2 separate regions of the Homo sapiens genome follow, and region 1 is linked to region 2. Evidence: promoter capture Hi-C in 16 types of primary human blood cells and fetal thymus (Javierre and others, 2016). All regions are on one chromosome and are shown on one strand. Each heading gives the region's core, a stretch centred on a gene start or on the middle of the fragment in contact. The rest is flanking DNA. Distances are from core to core; before and after follow the strand shown. Region 1 overlaps MDGA2 (MAM domain containing glycosylphosphatidylinositol anchor 2). Region 2 holds the start of RPL10L (ribosomal protein L10 like).

Region 1 (3,042 bases), core at 237-2,736, 590 kb after region 2:
AAATGATTTATAATAATATTTTTTAAATTAATAGAAAGTAAGGATGAGCTAAGAGGTAGAAAGTTTAAAATGGGAAGAAATATCTCAATTTTTTGTTGTAAGTAAATTGTGATCGGCTCTGCAAGAATCTCTTTATTCTTTACCAAAAACTCCATTACTGGTGTTTATGTAGCTGGGTTTAGTTGTTCTCAGATAACTATCAAACGTAAATTATCTTCCACAAATTTGAGTGCTACTATCGCCATCATAAAGTTGTATTGAGGGCCTAATATGAACCTCATGCTAGCTTGGGGGAAACAAAACATATTATGTGACCCTGACGACCGTAACCTTTACGAAAGTCAAAATTTATTAAAAAAAAAAAAGGGCTCTGATAAGTGCTAAATTAAATTACGGACAAATTCTGTCACATTGCTTTAGTTTCCTGGACTAGTATCACTGAGTTGAAACATATCATTATTTTAATCATAAATATTTCACTATAGGCTTCTACTTTAACATGTCTAATATAAATTACTGTACATTGTGTAAAATAATTTATAAACTTTCTAAGGGATGAGAAAATCAGCCTTCTCAAAAAGATGTGTTTGCATTGCAAAAGGCAAGTAATATGCTTTGATCAATTTGATGTGAAACATAAAAAGCTTCTTTCATAGAAAACAGATACCAGGCATACAATTTTAATTGAAGAGAATTTTTGTTACTTCTTAATATTTCAAGGGAACACATACCAAAAGGAGCTGTAAGTCAGTTATTTTATTATTACCTTTGGCTATTTTACTATTACATTTCAATAAGATAATGAATTTTCCTTTGGGGAAAAAAAAGTTTTCAATGCTTAACAAATGAGATCATTCTAAATTAAATTATCTGCCTGAAAAGACACTATTTTAATAAATATTTGATTGAATAAAAGTTATTTTCCTCCACATACACAAATGTTATTGCATCCTTGCTTTTTGAAACAACGGGCTTTATATCAAAATTTTATATCTTTTTTTAGGCATACATTTTTTTCCCAGAGTTTAGTAGCAATCTTTTTCTCTATATATTTCAGTCCTTGAAACATATTGTGCACATTCAGTGTTATAACCTTGTCACTCAAAGAGCTGATACAACACAAAGTGATTTCACCAAAAATAATGGAAGGATAGACATTATTTTTGGTTAGAAACAGTTTTTGCTGTTTTTTTTTGAGACAGTCTTGCTCTGTTGCCCAGGCTGGAGTGCAGTGGCACGATCTCGGCTCCCTGCAACTTCTGCCTCCCTGGTTCAAGCGATTCTCCTGCCTCAGCCTCCTCAGTAGCTGGGATTACAGGCGTGCACCACCAATCCCAGCTAATTTTTGTATTTTTAGTAGAGATGGGGGTTTCACCATGTTGGTCAGGCTGGTCTTGAACTCCTGACCTCCTGATCCACCCACCTTGGCCTCCCAAAGTGCTGGGATCACAGGTGTGAGCCACCACGCCCAGCTAGAAACATTTTTTAAGAAGAAGAATATTGTGCTTGTCATGTTCAGTTTCTTGAACCGGGTTATAGGAGTGTGTTAAGTTATGAACATTCAATAAAACAGCAATCATAATAATAAAGAGTAACTAGTTTATTAAAAAGTTCAAGAAGCACTGTATTTTGTCAGTGTCTGGAAAAATAACACCAAATGTGCCTTTCTTTGTGGATACTCCATTTAGGAAAAGGTACAAATTGGAAATGAAAAGGAACGTGGTATGGGAGTGGAGAGAAAAAGAAGTATTTGAAAAGAAGTCTCAGAAATCATGGATAGAAAATAATTAATGATTATTACTATGTAAGTAGTGCATGTCTTAGAATATTGCACACACAACTGAGGGGTTTTAGCAAAAAATACATTACCCAGAAAGGAAAATGTAAAGCAGAAGCAGTGTGCTAAATTGCTGTTGCCCTCTCCTGATCTCCCAATTAGTGAGCACTTAGCCAACTCTCTTGAAAGCAAATACCTCTAAGGAGGGTGTCACTTAATTATTCATATTTTATTACCAATTACTTTAATCAGATGGTTTCTTCATAACATTTGGCTGAATCAGCTAAATTTGGAAATGTTATGCATACCATCCAAGAGTATAAAGAGGCACATGTGTGATTTTAGAAAATGGGTTATTTGAAGGAAACTTGCTCCAGATATGTTTGTTGAAATCATTGAGGGTTTTCATGTTCTGCTTGAAAACTTAACCTTTAGGAGTGGATGACCAATCCAGGAGATGGGCTTTCAGAGTCACTTGATGTTGCAAAGTTGATCATTTAAAAGGTTACTTTAATACTTCCTTAAAACAAGTGTAACTAATTCAACTCTCAGGAAGCTTAAGATGGCCTGGGGGAAGGGAAATACCTTAAGTAATCCTAACGAAAGCTAAGTCTGTGCTTTATGGTTGGAGGCACATGCAGGCAAAATGGTGAAACCATTGCTCTCCTTCAGGCTCCATGCACTTTTAGATAAACATCCAAACATCCTCATATTGCCTCAGGCTATTTTCATAGGGCCAACTCCCTGGGACTTAGAAAAATCCTATCTTTTCCATTAAAATGTCAATTCCTTCACAGGATAGAAGAAATTTAAAAATTATTGTGTTTGTTTTTTGTGTGTGTTTCTTTCCATTGTAAAAATTTGTTAATTTTAGAAAGGTTTTAGTTGTTTGCTTTAGCAAAGGTGTTTTCTTTAATTAAAGGTCACTCCTTGAACCAAAAGTTTAAGTCGCCAGTGAATTATTTGTGGCCCAAATTATTTATATGAATAATTATGTGAAAAGAGTAGAAATGTTGTCCCAAACACTTTCATCTCCCAACTCTTTTCCTCTGACTGTCCTGCATTCCATAATGTTTCATTGTATCATAAAACCCTAGCACATATTTTATGATTTTTCCACTGAGGTAAAAAAAAATGTTTAACATTCAATTGGCAAAGTGATGTTTACCTACCAAGAATATTTTTGCATAGGGGAACAAAACAAAATAGCTAAATTGAAATCCCTTCTTTACTATGAAATCATTTTGTGATCCTGAAGAAGGTAC
Region 2 (2,948 bases), core at 46-2,545:
AGATTAGACTGTTATCTCTTGACTGTGAGACAATGTAAAGTTCGTCTGGAAAAGCCTTTCAGAGTGATACTCAATTGTCCTAAGGCTGATAATCAGACGTGTAAGGTAATTCTAAAAACAATGTACAGAAATTTATAGAAAAACATAAGGCAACCAAGTTTAGAAATAAATTACTTCCAAAGAGGCTGTGGGTGAAATATCACTAATGCCTACTATTATTTTCATCGCTACTGTTTAGTTTATATTCTATAAACAAATTTTTTCACTCAAATCTATTTTTTATTCAAGGAATGATAGCTGCATAACTTATGACTTTACTACAAACAAAACTTTCAACATATTGCTCTATACTCTCCTAAATTTAAAGTGTTTGCTTAAAACAGCTTTCTCTATAAATTGTATAGTTTTACTGAAGCAAGGAAGGTAACATTTGCCATTAAAACTGAATAAATAGAAAAAAATTCTCTAGTAGTCTATATTCTAAAACATTGGATATTTAAAAAATATTAAAACTTAATAAGGAGTTATTTTTTGCCAGTAAACAGAATTTATTAGTAAGCATAAGTCAGACCAGCATGGCCCAAGGAGACAGTACTGCCAAAACCTTCATGAGTGCAGAACCCGCCACTTGTCCAAGGGGCCATGACTGGGAACGTACTTGACTCCACAACCATCAGGGATGAGGCACTTCTTGGCCACCATGTCTTCAAATTCGTCAGCATTAAACTTCGTGAAGCCCCACTTCTTGGAGATATGAATCTTCTGGCGTCCAGGGAACTTGAACTTGGCCCTGCGCAAGGCTTCAATCACATGCTCCTCGTTCTGAAGCTTGGTGCGGATGGACATGATGACTTGACCAATGTGGACCCGGGCTACAGTACCCTGGGGTTTTCCAAAGGCACCTCGCATACCTGTCTGGAGCCTGTCAGCCCCAGCACAGGACAACATCTTGTTGATGCGGATGACATGGAAGGGATGGAGCCGCACTCGCATGTGAAAGCCATCTCTGCCACAACTTTTCACCATGTATTTGTTGGCACAAATACGGGCGGCCTCCAGGGCTTCAGAAGACAGCTGCTCATATTCATCAGACACCATGTGGCCACCGAGTGGGAACTCATCCACTTTTGCCTTCTTTCTACCCAGGTCAAAGATGCGGATCTTGGCATCAGGAACCCCTCGGCAGAAACGAGATTTTGGGTACGGCTTGTTCTTACAATACCGGTAACAGCGAGCTGGACGGCGCCCCATGGCGACACAGTAACGTCGGCGGTGCCTCGAAGTCAAAATGCGCTCTCTTAACTACGCCTGCGCGCATTTATATACGTTGCCCCTCGTCCCTCGCGGGAACCATAGAGTCCTGAGGCCGGAACCATAGAGTCCTGAGGAGGATGTGACGACTCTCTTTCAGGACGTCCCAACCAGAGACGCAGGGACGTCTGGCGCCTCAGCGCCTGCGCCAAGTGGCGCGCTTAAGGTGAGCAGAGTCAGCTGTGGGTAGACTCCCCCTGGCGGCCAGGGAAGGAATTGGGCCCCGCCCCAACTGCACAGCTGCTGCTTCCTTTCTGCTAGCCATCTTGGGCTAGGAACTCTTGCTTTCAGCTTTGCTTTAAGTATAAAAGAGGTTATTTCCAGGCAGGAGAATCTCTTGAGCTCAGGAGTTCGAGGCCAGCCTGGGCAATATAGTGAAATGCTGTCTCTACAAAAAAAAAAATATATATATATCAAATAGCTGGGCATGGTGGCACATGCTTGTAGTCCCAGCTACTCAGGAGGCTGAGGTGGGAGGATCGCCTGGGCCCTGCAGGCAGAAACTGCAGTGAGCTGAGATAGCACCACTGCACTCCAGCTTGAGTGACAGAGGGAGACCCTGTCTAAAGAAAAAGAAAAAAAGAAATCCTAGAATTTGAGAGGAAAAATCCTTCCAGTTATTCAACATGCTGTTTCCAGTTTGGTCAGTTCATTTTCCAGAGCTTGTATCTCACTGTCAGCATTTGTAGATCAATTGCTGTTTCTTGGGTTATGTGGCCACCTTCCCTGGATAAAGTGGTTTCTTGGCATGAGTGCTTTGATGAGACTCAGGAAGAGATGAGAGGAAGAGAAGAGAGAGGGATAAAGAGAAGATATCTGTTGTATCTGTAGCTTGGCAATTGTTTTATAAACATGAAACTTTGTTTTTTCTTTATTTGGCCTAAAGAAATGATTTTATTATCAAAATGATATATACAAAATTGAAACACCAACTAGATTTTTTTTAACTTAAGGCTATTTGCATTTTCAAATGTTAAAGCTGCTGAAACTATATAAAAGAGTAACAGTTTGTGTTTTAGTAATCTTTTGCCCCTGAGAATAAATTTAAACTTTTTTTCTTCTCAGAGTTTGTAAAAATATTATGACAGGGATCAGAGTGTAGGAAAGGAGGAAGAAGAGAGAGGAAAAGAAATTAATAGTTTACAAACCCTACTTGCATTTTTCTAGTTTTCTTTTTTGTTTTAATGTTGTTTCACAAATCCATTACATCATGGAACAAAATCCCCCCAATGTGAATATATTCTGTCAATACTCTTTGTTTTAAGGGAGAAAAATAACTCCTGCCCTTAAAGTGAGTGGATTTTTACAAAATACTAAAGATAAAACAATTAAATCTCCCAATGTAGAAAACTTTCTGACCTTTAAGAAAGCTTTCTCACTTCCCTTTTCTTCCTTCATTTCTTCTTTCCCCTTTTTCTCAACTAGTTCCTGTTTAACATATTGAGATAAAGTAGCTAATACCATGTTGCTCTCACCAAGCTTACAAGCCTAGGAGAGGATATAGATACTTCTCATATATCATCATATTACCAAGTGTAAAATGTGCCAAAAAGGAAAAGCAAAGTAAGCCCTGAGACTGTGGGATGAGGCTGGGGATGAGACCTTGATCCAGACTGAGGAATAGACAGGAAAATCTT

The links. The method cuts DNA at HindIII sites, captures the fragments that hold promoters and counts their contacts. A CHiCAGO score of 5 or more calls a contact.
Region 1: a fragment that was not itself captured here is called in contact with the fragment with the promoter of RPL10L in region 2 in 1 of 17 cell types (M1 macrophages); the score reaches 5.3 in M1 macrophages.

Annotation. Positions count from the first base shown.
Region 1 is chr14:47,238,870-47,241,911 of GRCh38, forward strand. All of the region lies in intron 2 of MDGA2 (MAM domain containing glycosylphosphatidylinositol anchor 2), which reads right to left. Among named protein-coding and RNA genes, the nearest start is that of MDGA2, 440 kb to the right of the region's middle. The HindIII fragment of the contact is 1,689 bases long and covers 643-2,331 here.
Region 2 is chr14:46,650,486-46,653,433 of GRCh38, forward strand. RPL10L (ribosomal protein L10 like) reads right to left here and starts at 1,296. Exons shown (of 1, transcript NM_080746.3): 1 at 525-1,296. The coding sequence starts at 1,251. The coding sequence ends at 607. The region is part of intron 3 of LOC105370481 (a long non-coding RNA gene); the gene reads right to left. The HindIII fragment of the contact is 1,853 bases long and covers 827-2,679 here.